Linked DNA regions of Homo sapiens: region 2 is linked to region 1. Evidence: promoter capture Hi-C in human tissues and cell types (Jung and others, 2019). All regions are on one chromosome and are shown on one strand. Each heading gives the region's core, a stretch centred on a gene start or on the middle of the fragment in contact. The rest is flanking DNA. Distances are from core to core; before and after follow the strand shown.

Region 1 (4,359 bases), core at 287-2,786:
CAGTTTATAAAGTGCTCTCACATTTACAATATTTAATCTTCCCAACCCTGTGAGGTCAATATTATCCATATTTTGTAAATGAGGAAACTGAAGGTCCTCATGATCAAGTGATTCACCTAAGACCATAGCTTGTGGGTGGCTGAGCCCAGGGCTGCAGACCCTAATTTTAATGTTCTCTCCTCTACCCCATATTGCGGAGGGCAGGCAGGCAGTCCCCTGTCATGGGGCTCTGCAGCTCTCCATGGAACCAATAATGGAGAAGAAAATTGCGTTGCATTTTCTAAGTAGTCAGCTGGGATGGCAGGAATTTATTTATTTTATTTACTTATTTATTTTTTGAGACAGAGTCACGCTCTTGTTGCCCAGGCTGGAGTGCAGTGGCACGATCTTGGCTCACTGCAAGCTTTGCCTCCCAGGTTCAAGCAATTCTCCTGCCTCAGCCTCCCTAGTAGCTGGGACTACAGATGCCCGCCACCACACCCAGCTAATTTTTTTGTATTTTTAGTACAGACAGGGTTTCACCATGTTGGCCAGGTTGGCCTCAAACTCCTGACCTCAGGTGATCCGCCTGCCTCTGCCTCCCACAGTACTGGGATTACAGGCGTGAGCCACTGTGCCTGGCCATGGCAGGAAATTTTGATGGGCATCTACTTACCTGCAAGTGTGTTGTGCTTTCTTAATTGAGGGGCATTGTTAGAGGATTGTTAGAGGTAGTGGTGTTACTTGACTGGGTCTTCTGGGGTGTTGATGTGCACAGGGGAAATTTGGATTTCCCATCACTTTGTGTGATGACCACACAGCCCCTAAATCTCACCTAAGTGTGATATGGAGAAGCTGAAAGAAGCCACTACATTGTCCACATGAGCTAGGAACAGTGACTTTAGGTCTTACATTAAATCTTAATTCTGCCTTAACTTTGCTGTGCAACTCAGGCCAGACTTCTCCCTCTCTGGTTCTCAGAACAGCCCTGGCAGCCAAACCGAAGTTATCTCCTATGCCAGCCTGAGACTCCACTCCCTTTGCAACCTCCTGGAGAAGATAACTTAGGGAAAGACTGTCACTGCTCAGAGGAAGCATCCCAAACCCCTCACTGGTTTAGGAATTTAACACTACCGAGCAACGGCCCCAGAAGGCAAGGCGATTGTTAGGAGGAATTAAACAGGCTAGTGCTGGACCCAGCCATCCAGTCCTGGCTTACACAGAGGTTGCTTTTCATGCCTTTTCACTCTGTTAATTTGGCTTGTTTTCCAAACATGGGTCAAACAACCCCTCTCCAGAAGCGGCAGCAGCAGAAGGAAATGTTATTAAAAATGAGTCTGTTAGTGGGAATGGTGTGTGGATGAAGTCTTTGGGAGTTTTGGCTGCCAAATAAAGACTTTATTGTCATTCCTCCTTTCCCAAGCTCCCTCCCTCTCTCCTCCCCTCCCCTCCCTCCCTCCTCCCTCCTCTCCTCCCCTCCCTCCCTATGATCTGCCCCTCCCTCCCCCCAAGCTAACCTCCCCACCCCAATAGGATCTGGTGGAAGAAAAGTCAGGCAAACACAAGCACGCACACACCACTGGGAGATCAGATCTTCTAGCTGGCTCTCTGCTGCCACAGCTCCGCCGAAGGGAGGGGGTGGAAGAGGAGGACTAAACTCAGAGCTGAGAGGAGAGGCAGGTGTGTGCAGGTAAGCCCAGTTGGGAGATGGGCAGGAGACTGGGAAGAATCTTTCATCCAGTAAGTTTCCTCCAGCTCTGTCCATTTATTGATCTAGTCTCTATCCTCTCACTCCTTCCTTCCTCCCACCTCTTTCTCCTCTCAAATGAGTTCAAATTTAGTCTTCCTAACTTCTTTCCTATAGCCTCTTCCTTTTCTTTTCATCACTCTGTACCCCTATATTTGCTTACTGCAAAAGTTAAGCTTTCCTGCTGCAGATGTTTGTTGTAGCACAGAGAGCCACGCTGCACAAAGTGTTTCTACAGATCAGGTGTTTCCATAGAAACTGGACTCCAGAACCCATTTCTTTGCACCTTTTGTGTATTGTCACACATTGTGGAAGTCACACACATCACACGGAGGCTGCACGTTCACTACCATCACCCCACACGACCATACAAAATGAAGACATCCTGTCCATTCACCTCTGCCCTCTGCATCTGACATGCAGAGCTAGACCACATCATCACCAGACACCAGCAGACACACACACACATGCATGCACACATGTTCCCTGCATCTTGTCTCTCGCCCTCTCACACACACCTCCCTAGCTGTAAGAGCAAAGATAAAGTACGTTTTCCCACTGAGATGGCAGAGCCAGAAGAAAATCTTGCATCCCAAGTCCAGGCCGAATAGGGAGGAGATAAGCAAGAGCGGGAGCTGGAAGGGTTTCTTCATTATTTAGGGCTTCACTGGGTAGGAGGGAGAGAAAAACGGCTTTTTCCAACCTGCACAGTGTCTTCTCAGCAGCTTTCAATTTCTGTCTCACTGGTCCAAACCACTTGGCTTTTGGAAAGAAAGAAGAAAGCGACCCAGTTCCCAATCCTTGAAGGTCCTAATTCCCAGCTCTGGGGACAGTTCATTTTTTTATTTTTTTTTCCTGCAGGCAGCCAGAAAAATATTTTTCTTTAAAGCCGTTCTGAAATTATTCCAACCATTTAGGTTGGCAAAAGGTCCTGTGGCAGAGGAGAAAAAAAAAAAAAGGCAGCAGTTCCTTAAGCAGTTGGGGAGGGGAAAACTGAAGGGCGGCCCCTCTCCTGCTCCCCTGCTCATTCCTCTCTATTAATAGAGAGGGTCTGTCCCAAGGCAGGCGGGGTGTAGGGAGATCAGGGGTCCCACACACAGCTGATCTTCACAGTCACCTAAGGGCTGGAGAGGGAGGAGTGTGGAGGGCTTACTAAAAATACAGATGTCGGCTCTCACTGCAGATCTACTGAATCGAGACCCAGGAATCTTGTTTTAATACTTCAGGAGATTCTGATGGTCCACCAGGGCTCGAGAATCAGGGGCCTGAGAGAGAGCTTTGCTGTAATTTTTAAGCCCAAGACTCCGGCAGTGTTAGCTGGGCAGAAGGACTGTGTCCTGGAAAAGGAGCACCAGAGTGTCCCAAATAGGCCACCTCTTTTTTGGGGAGTGGGAGTAAACAGGGAAGAGCTGTCTCCCTCTCTCCTCCTTGCAAGCACAAGCAGCCATATATACCACAGAGGAACATTCCAGTAAGAAAGTTCCCCCAAGATGGCTCCACAGAGCTTCTGTTTCCCCTCACCTGTTAATCTGCCTGCCCCAGGACCCCAGGAGCATGTGCTGGGCCCTTCCCCTGACCCTTATAGGTCCCTGCTCCTCCTTCCCAGCAGCCACCTGTCTGGGCTCTCACAGAGGGTGAGCTGAACACTTTCTTCATGCCCCCTCCACCTCCCTAGTGGGCAATCCCATTTATTGGGCATGTGAGTGAAGCATTTCAAGGCTGGAAGGGGCAAAAAGCTGGGAGAAGTCAAGAATCGCAGTGGAACTCCATGGCCCACTGAGGAAGGCAGACTTGCACCTTCTGTGGCCAGTGTCCCCTCACCTGTTGCAGAAAGCATCGGTGAGAAGTTGGTGAATTAGAAAGACAGAACAAGCTTTCCCTAGGTGGCTGGGGACTTCCAGAGTCTCCTCAGTTAGTTGTTTCTGAGACCCAAGTGTGATCTCACAAGCCACAAAGGGGAGGAAGTTGCTCTGTGTGGAAGAGCTGGTACCCCACTCACAAGGATCCCTGCCTTCGAGCAGTGCATGGGGGCTGCCCTCTAGCCAGGCTGGAGGGAAGGAGACCCCATTACTTTGAAATAATATCAACAAGACCTTAACATTCAGAAAACACTCACTTTGCATGTATTAACTCATTTAACCCTCAAAACAGAAAAGAAGGTGTTAGTATCCCCATTTTATAGAGCAGAAAAGCAATTGCTTTGCCTAAGCCTACCTAGCTAAGCATCTGAATGAAGAACTGCAGGATTGGGTCTCAGATCTATAATCACTCAAGGCATCAGACACACTCTTCTAGGCTTTCTTCAAGGCTTGGAGATGCTGGGGGAATGGGGCAGAGGATATGGTAGGTGGCGGGCTGTCAGAGAAGAGTCGTCTCACCCTGGTTTCTTCCCCACCGCTCAGAATGGAAAACTTTCTCTTCTAAACTAGTGGCCTGAGGCCAGAAAATCTTCATTCTGTTTACACTTTGCCTTGTGGTAGACACTGGGGAGACAGATGGTCTCTCCATAATAGTGTTATTTTTATTTTTAGCACTTTTTGATCTGTAGTGCATTTTAAAGCTGCTAACTGCACTTGCTTCTGACAATTGGGTAAGGAATATAGGTATAGGGAAGATTTTTTTATTCCCATTTT
Region 2 (4,440 bases), core at 1,755-4,254, 150 kb after region 1:
GTTTTTCACCTGGAACAAAGTTTTAGACTTCAGCATATACTTTATTCTGTTGTTATCTGCTTTATATATCTCCACAACCAGATTAGAGGCTTCTGGAAGGCAGGGACTATGTTACATATCACTATGTTCCATAACACTGCCTAGTAATGCATTGTGCCTGGATTATCCCTCCCACCATCTTTAGGCTTGCAGTCTACCCTACACACTACTGCCACAGCCAGCTTACTAAACACAGACCCAGTGAGGCCACTCAGGGCCCTCCATTGACTGAACTCAAACTACCTCCCCAGTCTTTCTCCTCTACTCTTTTTTCTTTTTTCTTTTTCTTTTTTTTTTTCTTTTTTTTTTTTTTTTGAGACAGACTATCACTCTGTCACCCAGACTGGAGTGCAGTGGTGCAATCTCGGCTCACCGCAAACTCTGCCTCCTGGGTTCAAACTATTCTTGTGCCTCAGCCTCCCAAGTAGCTGGGATTACAGGTGTGTACCACTACACCCAGCTAATTTTTTTACTAGAGATGGGGTTTTGCCATGTTGCCCAGGCCAGGCTTGAACTCCTGGCCTCAGGCAACCCACCCACCTCGTTCTCTATTCTTTCTACCTCCAGACCTTTGCTCATGTCCCACCCTAACCCCGCCTCCATCCAAAACAGTTTAAAGCTTGCTTTTCAAGATTTTTCAGGTACTTGCAAATATTATCTCCTTCCTAGAGCCTTCTAATATTCCCATCTGAGGCAATCACTCCCTAGCATTTCCTAGCATTTTATATTTCATCTTTTAATATGTACTACCTAGCACATAGTAAGCATTCAGTAAATACATTTAAAAGATTATAGCATCTTTGATTGTAGCTACTCATGCTATGAAAGCATCTTTTCCTTCTACTAAACTATAAGCTTATTACCTCTGTATACCTCATCTGGGCCCAGTAGATGTTGAAACAGTAGACATTCAATAAATGTATGCTAAATTGAATAGTAGGTGTTCAGAGATACTTAACTGAATGAATAAAATGCACAGAAATGACTGAATCTAAATGGTAGCTAGTAGCTCAAAGACTTTCTATATTACTTTCTACACTACATTTCTACATTACTTAGTACAAGTGACCAAAAAACCTAGTTTCATCTAGCGTAGGCATGCACAATGAGTCATGTAACTCATTTGTAGGAAAGGCAGGGGTACAGTGGGATATGAGGTACAACGAACTCCAGTGCTGCTGGCACTCACTCCTTAGCTTTCTCGTCTGCCTCTCTTGCATGCGAGCTGTATTCTTTTTTATTGCAGGCTTCTTCCATGGGGCAGGGAACTTGACCCCTGATACTTCCAGAGTATAAGATACTTGACCTCTGATACTTCCAGAGTATCTCTTCACAGTAGTCACAGCAGGGACCAAGCCTTGTTTTCTGTTTAATCGTAAGTGCAAAACTCTCAGGAAAGGATGTAATTGGCTCAGCTTGGGTCAGGTGGGGTTAGGACTGCTAATAAAATGTCAGTTTCAATTGTTGTTTTTTGTTTTGTTTTGTTTTGTTTTGAGATGGAGTCTCACTCTGTCACCCAAGCTGGAGTACAGTGGCACGATCTCAGCTCACTGCAACCTCAGCCTCTGGGGTTCAAGTGATTCTCGGGCCTCAGCCTCCTGAGTACCTGGAATTACAGGCATGCCCAGTGATTTTTTTTTGTATTTTTATTTATGTATTTATTTACTGATACAGAGTCTCACTCTGTCACCCAGGCTGGAGTACAGTGGTGCAATCTCAGCTCACTGCAACCTCCATCACCTGGTTTCAAGCGATTCTCCTGCCTCAGTCTCCCGAGTAGCTGGGACTACAGGCGCGCACCACCGTGCCAGCTAAGTTTTGTATTTTTGGTAGAGACGGGGTTTCACCATGTTGCCCAGGCTGGTCTTGAACTCCTGACCTCAAGTGATCCAACCACCTCGGCCTCTCAAAGTGCTGGGATTACAGGCATGAGCCACCATGCCTGGCCCAGTTTCCATCTTAACAGTGAGAAGAAAGGACGTCCCAAAGAACTGGGTTCGGGCATGGGGAAAATGGCTGCTGTTCTAGCCAAGGCAAAATGGTAGATATTCACAACAGGGAGTCATGCAGTCTGCATTCGGGGGAGGTACAGGAAATGGTGAGGAAGATTTGGAAAACTCAAGGTGGAGTCATCAAGAGGCAGAGGAACACATTCTGTTAAACACCTAAGTGAGAGACAGTGCTGACTGCATTTTCCTCAAGTGAGAGATGGGGTAGGGACAGGGTCCACAGTGATGTAAGCCCTGTAGAGACTGACCTGCTATGGGGAGTTCAGGAGGCTGAGGAGAGCCAGGCTAGATCTAAAGAACAGGAACCTGTAAAGTCAAGAGTACAGCAGGGAGAAGAGGGAAACAGGACTGCTCAGAGCTGAGCAGAACAGGCAGACTATGAACTTCTGATGCCAGAGGCAGTGTCCTCCTTCTTGCCCCAGGGGGGCCAACTCCATTTTCCCACATCTAGTGGTTATTTTTATGGATAGATTTATTTTTACCCGTTCTAGACCTCAAACCTGCCGCTGCAAGAAGCGAAGCACTGAGGCTTCTAGCTTTCCAGAAAACACAGGCCTCAGTGGTCAGCTCAGTGACAGAGATCAGGCTATGGTCCCCTCGGCTCCTCTGGGGTCACATTGACCCACCCCCCGACATCCCTCCCTCCTGTCTGCAGCAGAGCTGGGGTGGGAATGGAGTGGGAGGGGGATTCCTTTTTTCTCATCCCACAACCCCACAGCCGGTCAAGGGGAGGATCTACAGCCACCCTGGAAGTCATAAACCTGGCCTGCCCCTGAATCCTAGCCAGCCAGATGTGGGACAGCCATCAGAGCCTCTTTTGACAGCACCTCCCTGGCAGAGCCTGTCTCCCTGGAATCCAGGGAGCTTGAGGGGAAGATCTTACCTTTCCAATAATAACCAGCTATGAAAGGGTATCATTTCCCAGTCCCCACAAAACAGGCAGCCAAAGCAGACTTCTTCTTTATTGGGACCATACATCTGGCCTAAATTGTCATTCCCCCAAGACAAGTTTACTGAACAGTTAGGCAATGCCTCCACACACAGCCACTGCAGACGAGCTTAAAATATACTTTAATACATTTAAACAGTCATTTCAGAGACTGGCTTTCTTATGATAAAGATGCAACTGACACTCATTGGTGCTAAAATGTCATGTTGTTGCCATCCAGCAGGGAGCCTGACAAGCCATTAAATCTGCAGCTCTGTTAAGCTGATTCATTTCTTTTCCTTTCTTTCTCATGTCTTCCCCAACAATTGATTTGGGCTCCTGAAGCTGATATTTTGCTAGGGTCTACCAAAATCTAACAAGGGTGCTGTGCATTGTAGGGTGTGCCCGTAGTCCCAGTTTCTAGGAAGGCTGAGGCGAGAGGATCACTTGAGGTCAGGAGTTTAAAAGCAACTTGGGCAACACAGGGAGACCCATAATGAAAAAAAAGAAGGAAGGAAGAAGGAAGGAAGGAAGGAAAGGGAGGAGGGAAGGGAGGGAGGAAGGAAGAGAGGAAGGAAGGACGGAAAAAAGGAAGAGAAAAAGAAAGAAAGAGAAAGAAAGAGAGAAAGAAAGAAAGAAAGAAGGAAGGAAGGAAGGAAGGAAGGAAAGAAAGAAAGAAAGAAAGAAAGAAAGAAAGAAAGAAAGAAAGAAAGAAAGAAAGAAAGAAAGAGGGAGGGAGGAAGGAAGGAAGGTAGAGGGAGGGAAGGAAGGAAGGGAGATGGAAGGAAGGAAGGGGAAAGAAAGGGAGAAAGGAAGGGAAGGGAAGGGAAGGGGAGGGAAAAGGAGGGAAGGGGAGGGAAAAAGGAGGGAAGGGAAGAGGGAGGGAAGGGAAGAGGGAGGGAATGGAAGAGGGAGGGAAGAGGGAGGGAGGAAGGAAGGAATCTAACAAGGTACTAACTGTTCTTGAAATGCCCTGGGAAGGTGGGAGTGACTAGAGGAGTTGCAAGAGGCTGAAATGAGAACAAAGGTCACCTTTAGTGTCCTGTAAGTGCCTTGAGTGTCAGACAGTCAATCACTAGACAAAAAAGACCAAACAATCCATAGTTCCCATAGAGGGTGACCCTAAAATCTCCCCTTACCCCTGCAACTTTCTTCGGCTGCTGGCAGGGAGAGGCACAAGCACAGGCAGGGGCTTATTTTTTTTCTCTTGTTTTTAATTTTTTTGTAGAGATGGGGTGGGTCTTGCTATGTTGCCCAGGCTGGTCTTGAAATCTGGCCCCAAGTGATCCTCCCTCCTCAGCCTCCCAAAGTACTGGAATTACACGGATGAGCCACTGTGCCTAGCCAGGGCTTATTTTGGATTTTGTTTTCAGATGACAGCAGGCAATCTCCAGCCTCACATTGATGAACTCTGAGTTCTGAGCCCAGCCCAACCAGTCTAAAAACATTACTGGCCGGGTGCGG

What was found. The method cuts DNA at HindIII sites, captures the fragments that hold promoters and counts their contacts. A contact is called where the count stands out against the background at its distance.
Region 2: a contact is called between a fragment that was not itself captured here and the fragment with the promoter of PRELP in region 1, in 3 of the 25 tissues and cell types used here (H1 embryonic stem cells, IMR-90 fibroblasts and aorta).

Annotation. Positions count from the first base shown.
Region 1 is chr1:203,474,270-203,478,628 of GRCh38, forward strand. PRELP (proline and arginine rich end leucine rich repeat protein) reads left to right here and starts at 1,537. Exons shown (of 3, transcript NM_002725.4): 1 at 1,537-1,669. The HindIII fragment of the contact is 3,589 bases long and covers 1-2,750 here.
Region 2 is chr1:203,620,614-203,625,053 of GRCh38, forward strand. No RefSeq gene overlaps it. Among named protein-coding and RNA genes, the nearest start is that of ATP2B4, 4.0 kb to the right of the region's middle. The HindIII fragment of the contact is 5,394 bases long and covers 308-4,440 here.